Linked DNA regions of Homo sapiens: regions 1 and 2 are each linked to region 3. The links are contacts of gene promoters, found by promoter capture Hi-C in human tissues and cell types (Jung and others, 2019). All regions are on one chromosome and are shown on one strand. Each heading gives the region's core, a stretch centred on a gene start or on the middle of the fragment in contact. The rest is flanking DNA. Distances are from core to core; before and after follow the strand shown.

What was found. The method cuts DNA at HindIII sites, captures the fragments that hold promoters and counts their contacts. A contact is called where the count stands out against the background at its distance.
Region 1: the fragment with the promoter of PKMYT1 here is called in contact with the fragment with the promoter of PAM16 in region 3 in 1 of the 25 tissues and cell types used here (spleen).
Region 2: a contact is called between the fragment with the promoter of IL32 here and the fragment with the promoter of PAM16 in region 3, in 1 of the 25 tissues and cell types used here (spleen).

The regions. Positions count from the first base shown.
Region 1 is chr16:2,979,192-2,982,486 of GRCh38, reverse strand. PKMYT1 (protein kinase, membrane associated tyrosine/threonine 1) reads left to right here and starts at 2,041. Exons shown (of 9, transcript NM_004203.5): 1 at 2,041-2,201; 2 at 2,575-2,839. The coding sequence starts at 2,830. RefSeq lists enhancers at 722-1,598, 1,599-2,474, 2,475-3,295 and silencers at 1,708-2,067, 2,078-2,307. The HindIII fragment of the contact is 14,611 bases long and covers 1-3,295 here.
Region 2 is chr16:3,064,390-3,067,562 of GRCh38, reverse strand. It overlaps IL32 (interleukin 32), which reads right to left and starts at 1,923. Exons shown (of 7, transcript NM_001376923.1): 1 at 1,876-1,923; 2 at 1,737-1,779; 3 at 148-186; 4 at 1-9. The coding sequence starts at 1,751. RefSeq lists an enhancer at 2,120-2,429. The HindIII fragment of the contact is 16,762 bases long and covers 1-3,173 here.
Region 3 is chr16:4,349,830-4,352,916 of GRCh38, reverse strand. PAM16 (presequence translocase associated motor 16) reads left to right here and starts at 1,596. Exons shown (of 5, transcript NM_016069.11): 1 at 1,596-1,685. The coding sequence starts at 1,683. The region is part of intron 27 of CORO7-PAM16 (CORO7-PAM16 readthrough); the gene reads left to right. The HindIII fragment of the contact is 27,496 bases long and covers 1-3,087 here.

The sequences.
Region 1 (3,295 bases), core at 792-3,291, 1.4 Mb after region 3:
ACACGCAGAAACTGGGGCAGGCAGGATCGCAGCCCTAGTTTCCCTCACACCACGCACTTATCTGCTCCATCTACTTATTTCCATTTACATATATTTATATTACAGCCTTTCCTCACACAGTGAAATTTACATCGGAAGCATGTGTTTCCATGCTTTTTTTTTTTTTTTTTTAATTATCATTGTGAATCAGACTTTAAAAAATGGGCGGTTGGAAGGGGACCTGTTGGGGAGATGGGGCTGGCAGAGGTAGCCCTAGGCAGCTGGGGAGGGGCCTGTGTGTGCCCCAGGCCTCCTGGGGGCCAGTCTGGAGTCATCAACAAGGATCCTGCCTGAGTCACTGGGGCACAGCCGCCAGAGATGCGAAGGACAAGGAAAGGTGCAGGCAGGTGGGCTGCCGCCCCCAGCCAGGATCCCAGCCTCTCCTCCCCCACACTGCTGCTCCATGCACAGAACGTTTACAGAGGGTGCAGGAACTGAATGGGTGGGAAGCTTTGCAGTCCATGACCTGTCAGAGACTTGGGGAGGATGGAGGGTTTGGGGGACTGGTTCTGGAGGCCAGGGCTAGAAGGAGCAGGTAGTCAACAAGTAAACTCACAAACAAAAGATAGAACATCGGACAGAGATCAGGGCAATAGCAAAAATAAGGCGGAAGGAGAGGTGAGAGTGAGAAGGCCAGCGTTTGGGGGAGGGTTGGCCGGAAGCGTACTCCTCCCACCCAGTTAAACAGATAAAGAGCCCCTCGGTGAGGGAAGGAACAATCCCTAGCCCGACTTGCTCCGCGAGGGCCCCTGCTAATCACTTTAGGGGATCATCCCAGCGTCCTCAGCTGTTTTTTTTTTTCCAGGAGAGGAGACTAATCCGAAGCTCAGAAAGGCTCAGTGCATTCCCAAGGTCGTTCAGCCAGGAGAGCGCTGAAGGGATCTGAGCTGAGAGCAAGTCTCAAACTCAGAGAATGGAGGAGCTGCCCCGGAAGTGGCTGCTCGAGGCTGCAGTGAACTATGATCCTGCGGCCAATCGCGGTGGCTCACGCCTGTAATCCCAGCCTTCTGGGAGGCCGAGGCGGGCGGATCGCTTGAGGTCAGAAGTTCGACACTAGCTTGGCCAACATGGTAAAACACCGTCTCTACAAAAAAATGCAAAAATTAGTTGGGTGTGGTGGCGCGCGCCTGTGGTCCCAGCTACTCAGGAGGCTGAGGTGGGAGGAACGCTTGAGCGGGGGAGGCGGAAGTTACAGTGAGTCGAGATCGCCCCACTGCACTCCAGCCTGGACAACAGAATGAGACCCTGTCTAAAAATAAAATACATGAGCCGAGTGCGGTGGCGCGCGCCTGTGATCTCACATACTCGGCAGGCTGAGGTTGGGAGAACCGCCTGAACCTGGGGACTGCACCACTGCATTCCAGCCTTGGTGACAGTGAGACCCTGTCTAAAAAAAAAAAAAAAAGTATCTGAGGCCTGTTGGCAGGGAAGCTGCAGGCAGGCGAGGTCAGGCCAAGCAGAGTCCTGCCTATCTGGAGAGCTTCCTGGAAGAGGCGGCTTTTTCTGGCTCCCGAAGCCGTGCGCTAGGGGTTGGGGGTCGTGCGTCTGGCCTCCCACCGCGACCCTGGTTCAGAACACGGCCGGAGTGAGAAGGGGGGTGCCGGGACCCAGGAGGCCGTAGGGACTTCCTGGTCCTACCCGGAGTAACCCTGGGGCTACGCCTGCTCCGAGCACCGGGATGGCGGTCCCTTTTATGGACCCAAACACTACGCCAGCCCAGCGAGGGCGGTGGGTGTCGGGTGCGAGGCCTGGAGGGCAGTGGGCGTCCCAGGGACTGGGCGGCTGAAGCCCCGCGCAGCGACTCAGAACCAGGCCGCCACCCACGCCCCGGGCCAGCGCGGAGAATCCTGTGCGCCTGCGCAGTGAGCGGCGGGGCGGCTCGGCGGCGCGCACGCAGCACGAGGGGCGGAGCCTCGGAGCCCGGGCACCCCTGACGGGCTGCACTGGGGAGGGGGAGGAGCCTCGAGGCCGGTTTGGAATTTTTGGCGCGAGCAGCTCCGCGCGCGTTCACGGGCCGTTCCCCCTCACGGGAGTCCTCCGCCCGGGCGTCCGGAACAGTCGACGGCAGACTCCGGCCCGCTGAGCCACCCGAGGGGTCCCGTGGCCTCCGCGGACCCGGAATCTGGGCCCTCGCGGACCCGCGCCCCGCCCAGTCGCCCCAGGTGAGCCCAGACCCCGCCGTGAGGGGCCTCGGCGTGGCCACCTCGCCGCTCCCCTCCGCCTCGCCAGGTCTGCGTTACCCCTGCCCCTCAGGCCTCCCCGGCGGCCCGCTCGCGTCCCCTCAGGCCCGCCCCCGCGAGCCCCTGCCTCCCGTCCTCCCCAATTCCTGGTTCCCTTGCCTCGAGCCCCTTCCCAGCGGCGGTCCCGCCCTACTCGCCCCTCCCGGAGACCCCGCCTGCTGTCCATCAACCCCGCGCCGCCGCCCTCCCCGTGACAGTCCTTCCTCCGTGACAGCCCCTGCCCCGGGACAGCCTCTCTTCTTCTGCAACAGCCCCTCTTCCCTCGTGACAGCCCGTCCACTGCTCTGTTCGCCAGGGCTTCCCCACACCCACGGAGTGAAGTCAGCCGCGGCCCTGCCTGGGAGGAACTTACCGTCTACCGGGAAAGGTGGCCAGCAGATGTGTCGGGCCTGGTGAGAGGGTGAGGCGAGACGGCCCGATCGCCCAGGGCCCCGGAAGCTGCGGAGGTCACCCCCGCCTGGCCTTAGCTCAGGGACACCCTGGATTCACGTGGGAGCCCCTGCTCCTGCCTCCCCCGTCCCACCACTGAGGCTGTTGGGCCAGGCCAGTCATGCTAGAACGTAAGTCGTAGGGCAGGGACGGTGGGAGAACTGGGTTAAGATGCACAGGCCCAGGTCCCCGAGTGTGCCAGGGTTGGGCCTGGAGGCTGTGCTTGTGACCAGTGACCTCCAGGATCCCAACACCCTGGCTCCTGACTTGGAGAAACCCTGGGCTGGGACTCTGAGGTAGTTAGAGTCAGAGGAAGAGTCTCCACAAGATGGAGGGCAGCCTGCCAGCCAGGCCCAGGTAGCATCGCTCCCCTCACCCCTGTACTCCCTCAGGTACTGGAGACTGCTCTTTTTAATTTTTTATTTACTATTATGTATATTTTTTTGAGATGGAGTTTTGCTCTTGTCGCCCAGTTGGAGTGCAATGCCGCAATCTCGGCTCACCGCAACTTCCACCTCCTGGGTTCAAGCATTTCTCCTGCCTCAGCCTCTGAGTAGCTGGGACTACAGGCATGCACCAGCACGCCC
Region 2 (3,173 bases), core at 674-3,173, 1.3 Mb after region 3:
GGCCTGGTGCTGTGAAGAGAGGCAGAGTTGGCACCAAAGGGCCGGATCCTTGTCCCTCCAGGGTCCCAGGTGTCCCACAGTGTCCTCAGTGTCACACGCTGAGACCCAGGCCCCCAACCCCTGAGCAGAAGTAGGGAGGAGCATTACCATTCGGGCCTTCAGCTTCTTCATGTCATCAGAGAGGACCTGCGGAAATAACGGTGACACTCAGTCTCCATGTGTCACCTTAACCTTTCCTCCAGGATAATTTATACACACACACACACACACACACACACACACACACACACAGAGACACATGGCAGAGGTACAGGATAAGAGGAGACAGCAGTCCCAGGAGCCCCTCACAGCCTGGAAAGACCGGCCAGGGCTGTCCTCGAAACGACTCAGAAAGCGCTTCTCTCAGGAGCCGGCTCAGCTGGGCAGGCCCAAGAGCAGGGCCAGCATGGGCCTAGGTGACCCCTCCTCACAAGAGCAGGGCCTGCGTGGGCCTAGGTGACCCCTCCTCACAAGAGCAGGGCCTGCGTGGGCCTAGGTGACCCCTCCTCACAAGAGCAGGGCCTGCGTGGGCCTAGGTGACCCCTCCTCACAAGAGCAGGGCCTGCGTGGGCCTAGGTGACCCCTCCTCACAAGAGCAGGGCCTGCGTGGGCCGGGGTGTCCTCCCTGCACACACACACCCCCCCATGTACACACACGGGAGGATGGACACTGTCCTGGAGCAGGCTGGCTCAGCTGGGTTTCCCACAACCACTATGGTCCCAGGTGAGAGTTGGCCAAGGAAAAAATGTTTAGGGACATGACAATTGAGAAGGTAACAGCAGCCATTCCTCTCTGATGAGCTGATTAATATTTGGGGTGCCAGGTAGGTCCACCCTACAACCTGCCACTCTTCCCGACTGCCAACATGCAGACCCACAGGTCCCGGGCCATTCCTGCCTGCAGACACGTGGCTGCATCCACAGAGGCCAGAGGCACCCCACAGAATCCCCGCTGAGCCCCCACGTCAAGGGCCTAGTCTCGGGGGTGACATGCCTGGTTTCCCCCACTATAGAGTGGTGACAGTCACCCACAGAGTGCGCAGGGCCTGGGGACATATTCTGGGCAGGGCAGCTGTCTGCACACTTTCAGGCAGCGATGGTCCCATCCCGCTAGCCTGATTTCCCAGGAACCAGGGTGAAAGCAGCACCGTGCCGACATGCGGGAGCCATGTGTCCTCCGGGTCACTGTCCTGAACCTGAGCCAGGCCACATCATGGAAACCCCTATTGTCACAGGCCGAAGAGCTCCCTGGAGGGTGTGGTGGGCCTAGCATTTGCGGTGGGGCAGTGGTAGAGGATGGGAGGTCGGAGGGAACCCAGGAAAGGAGGAAGAGACACCAGGACCCACACAGGCCTTGCTCTTGGGCCCACCCAGCTGAGCCGGCCTCTGAGAGAAGCATTCTCCGAGTCGTTTCCAGCAGAGCCCTGCCCCACCCCTGCCCCGGGCTTTCCGGGCTGTGAAGGGCTCCTGGGACAGGTGCTCCCTCTCATCCACACCCCTGCCGTTCTCCAGCGCCCCCGACACATATGACCTCCAGCGCCTCCACTGACACTCTCACCCCATCACTATCCTCCTGCCGCTGGGTGCCCCTGACTGAGCCCTGACACACAGGCACCTCGGGAAATACTGAGGGCACCCGCACCCTTACGGTCTGTTTTCAGACATGCCCACAAAAGCACACGCAGCCTCTCACTCACCTTCGGGAAGCACATGGCGGCCAAAAGTTCAAGGAGCCAAGGCCTGCTGGCGAGGAACAGGTGTGAGGAAAAGAAAGTGTCTCAGAGAAGCACCCTCCTCCCCAGAGGGTCCTCACCTTCGGGGACCCCAACTCCCCACCTGAGATGACCCAGCTCCACTGAGACAGTCACCTTCTGCACGCAGTCTTCCTGGCACAAATACTCAGCTGGTTTTATGGGGAAAGTGGGGGGTAGTGGGCGGAGCCTCTCTCAGGGCAGGAGGCCTTGCTGAGTGCGTGAAAAACAGACAGAGACAGAGACAGAGACAGAGACAGACAGAGATGGAGACTTACCCGAGAGAGACAGAGGTCTGGGGTCCCTGGGAGGAATGAGGGTCCGTCCCTGGCTGGGCCCCTGCTCCCTCTGAGCTGGGGTGGGAGTCTCTGAGCCCAGGAATGGGCTGCTTTCCCCACCCCACCAGCCTGAGAGTGGGGAGGGGCAGAGGGAAAGTCCAGACTCGGGACAGCTGGCTGGGGAAACTCCCTGAGTACAGGAAGGTGACGTCAGCCAAGTGGGATCCAAGGACAAAGGAATTTGGACCCTGTCCTTGCATGAGGTGTGCCCCGGCTCCAGAGGCCAGAGAAACTTCTGGATCAGAAGGAGGCAGGAACTGCCGGACCTAAGAGGGGCGCCGTGAGGGCAGGGGCCTGTGCACGTTGGAGGGGTGGCTAGTGGTGATGTAGATCTACCTGTGGGACAAGATAGGACCCTCTGCAGGGTGGAAGGCATCCTGCCGGCTGTCTGAGCTTGGCTGACCAGGTCCTTCTGACCCTTCTGGGCCAAGGCAAGGCCATCTGGGGCCGAAGGTCACTGGTCTCAGCAATCTTGGGGCTCCCCTACGGGCTCTTCTAGCTCCACGGGTTCTGACCCTCCAGCCTGGCTGGGCCTCCCACCTCCTCCTCACGGCCCCCAGCCCCCTTCCCCCAGCTGAGCACAACCACGCCCTTGCCTTTGGGATGGTTTCCTGGGGCCAAACTAAGGAAGTACCACGACAAGGGGCCCTAAGTCGAAGACGTCTCTTCCCTCACGATCTGCAGGCTGGAGGTCCAAGGTCAATGTGGGCAGCGTGGGGTCCTTCTGAGGGCCCGGAGCTGGGATTCTGTTCAGGTTTCTCCTGCCCTTGTAGATGGCCATCTTCATCTTCATCACGTTCTGCCTGGGTGTGACTGTCCCCCTTTCCCCTTTCCAAAGGACACCAGTCATATTGAAATAGGGTCCACCCTAGGCCGGGCGCAGTGGGTCACGCCTGTAATCCCAACACTTTGGGAGGCCGAGGCGGGCAGATCACCTAAGGTCAGGAGTTCTAGACCAGCCTGGCCAACATGGTGAAACCTTGTCTCTACTAAAAATACAAAAATTAGCCTTGCGTGGTGGCCGGCACCTGTATTCCCAGCTACT
Region 3 (3,087 bases), core at 347-2,846:
ACTTGAACCCAGGAGGTGGAGATCGCAGTGAGCCAAGATTGGGCCACTGCTCTCCAGCCTGGGTGACAGAGCAAGACTTCATCTCAAAAAAAAAAAAAAAAGGAAAAATAATTTAAAAATAAAAAACCGGTTGGGCACAGTGTCACATGCCTATAATCCCAGCACTTTGGGAGGCTGTGGCGGGTGGATCATTTGAGACCAGTAGTTCAAGACCAGCCTGGCCAACATGGTGAAACCCTGTCTCTACTAAAAATTCAAAAATTAATGGGGCATGGTGGTCCATGCCTGTAATCCCAGCTACTCAGGAGGCTAAAGCATGAGCATCGCCTGAACCTGGGAGGTGGAGGTTGCAGTGAGGCAGGATTGTGCCACTGGACTCCAGCCTGGGCGACAGGGTGAGACCCTGTCTCAAAATGATAAATAAAATAAATAAGTAAATTATGTGGTATGGTAGAGGGTGATCAGAGTCTTGGAAGAAAAATAGAGACAAGAAGGGAGGATAAGCCAGTCACAAAAGGCTGCACATTGTATGATTCAATTTCTTCTTTTTTTTCATTTTTCATTTTTACCTTTTTTTTTTTTTTTTTTTTTTTTGAGGCAGGGCCTGACTCTGTCACCCAGGCTGGAGTGCAGTGATCACAGCTCACTGCAGCCTGTACCTCCCGGGCTCAAGAGATCCACCACTCAGCCTCCCAAGTAGCTGGGATTACAGGCACCTGCCACCACACCCGGCTAATTTTTGTATTTGTAGAGATGGGGTTTCACCATGTTGCCCAGCCTGGCCTTGAGTTCCTGACCTCAAGCGATCCACCTCGGCCTCCCAAAGTTTTGAGATTGCAGGCATGAGCCACCACGCCTGGCTTGTATGATTCCATTTCTATGAAATGTCCGGAACCTGTGAATCCATAGAGAGAAAAATGAGTGGTTGACAGGGGCTGGGGGAGGGGGCTGGGGAGTGACTAATGGGTGATGAAAACGTTCTGGAACTAATAGTGGTGACAGTGGCACAGCTCTGTGAATAAAAGGCATTGGACTGTGCACTTGAAAATCATGAAATCTACAGTGTATGGATTATATCTCAATAAAGCTGTTACTTTTTTCATTCATGGAGGGCAAGTCACGGCGTTTTAAGGGGTCCAGGTGGGCCTCATTGAGGTGACATTTGAGCAAAGATTTGAAGAAGGGAACGAGCTTCTCAGGCAGGAGGAATGTGGATGAAACCTATTTTGAAGTTTTCTATTTTCTAAAGTATTTTTGAGAATTTAGCATCCTACTCCATATTATGTTCATTGATTTCATATAATGTTGCATTCCCAAATATTTTGGCAAAATCAAGGGCAGAAATCGCCCCACGTCTGACCGATGTGCTTAGCTGCTCCAGCGCACTGGGGTAAGCACGCGGGCAATTGAGACTCCCGGTAACGCCCCTTGCCCTCCCAAGCCCGCCCCCAGTTATCCAGAGCCCGACGCAGGCTCAGTCAAACCCCGCCTCCGACCCCGCCCCGAGCCGCTAAGACGCTCCCGGTGGCCCGCCCTTAGACTGAGGCAATGCGCATGCCCAGCGCCGTATCGCGCACGCGCTCTCTGCGGCTTTCCTTGACCTCTGACCCGCCGACCACGCTTGATCCCCGGCCGCGGGGCCAGGAAGTCGGAGTTTGAGCCCCGGAGGCAGAGCGGCTGCCATGGTGAGCCCCGAGTCGGGCGCTACCGGGGAGGGGAAGCCGAGTCGGGCCGGGGGCCGGGGGCCGGGCGGCGAGCTCCGGGCTGGGCGGCGGGCGCCGTGCGCCCCCTGCGTGCCCGGCGGGAAGCATGGTCTGGGGGCGTTGCACCCGGGGGAATCGAGGCCGGCAGCGGCGGCACCGGCGGCCTCAGGGCCAGGGAAAACCGTCTGCCTGGAAGAGGCCGGGCAAACGTGGTCGCGCTGTGCCTAGCCCGCGTGTGAGCGAGCAGCCGTGGGCAGCGGTGGAGCATGAGTCTGGCTGGTGAGCGCCTCCCCTGCCCTGGAACCTTACAGCGCTGCAGAGTCGATGTTGCTGCCCTGTTGTTATCCCCAGTGGAAAGCTGGCCTTTCCAGGGAAGTGGCTGACCTGGGACTTGAACTAGGCCCCGAGACACCGAGCACGGAGCGTTTGTGTGATATCGTTGGCACGTAGAGCCAGTCAACAGACCTGCGCCACACTGTCAGGTCACCTAGGGTAGCTTTAAAAGTGCAGGTTTGGCTGGGCGCGGTGGCTCACGCCTGTAATCCCAGCACTCTGGGAGGCCGAGGCGGCGGATCACGAGGTCAGGAGTTCGAGACCAGCCTGGCCAACATGATGAAACCCGGTCTCCACCAAAAAATTTAAAAAATTAGCCGGGTGGGGTGGTGCGCGCCTGTAGTCCAAGCTACCCGGGAGGCTGAGGCAGGACAGACGCTTGAACCCGCGAGACAGAGGTTGCAATGAGCCGAGATCCGCCAGTGCACTCTAGCCTGGGCGACAGGGTGAGACTGCGTCTCAAAAAAAAAATTATATATATGTATTATATATACCGTATACATTTATGTATACTACATATTATTATGTTATATATATTTTTATATATCATGTATTTTATATATATATATACACACACACACACATAATATATACATATGTTAGCCAGGCATGGTGGCACACACCTGTAATCCCAGCTGCTTGGGAAGTTGAGGCGCCAGTATCGCTTGAACCCAGGAGGCAGAGGCTGCAGTGAACCAAGATTGTGCCACTGCACTCCAGTCTGGGCGACAGGGCAAAACTCTCTCAAAAAGAAAAAGAGGGGGAAAAAAAAAGTTCAGGTTCTTGAGCTCTATCCCTGGAGGTTCTGCACACGTAAGTTCCCCAAGTGACTCTGTTGCAGCTGGTTCGGGGAGCCACTTCTTAACTAACATAGTAATAAGGATAATGTAACAGCTAACGGCGTACAAGTGCCAGCCCCTGAGCTAAGGCTTTATGTAGAGTCTCTCATTTAGTGTTTATGAAGTCCTGCTGTCATTGTCCTTATTTTACAGATAAGGAACCTGAGCCCCAGACAGTTTTGACTCCACCATAGTCATGCATCCCATGGTGT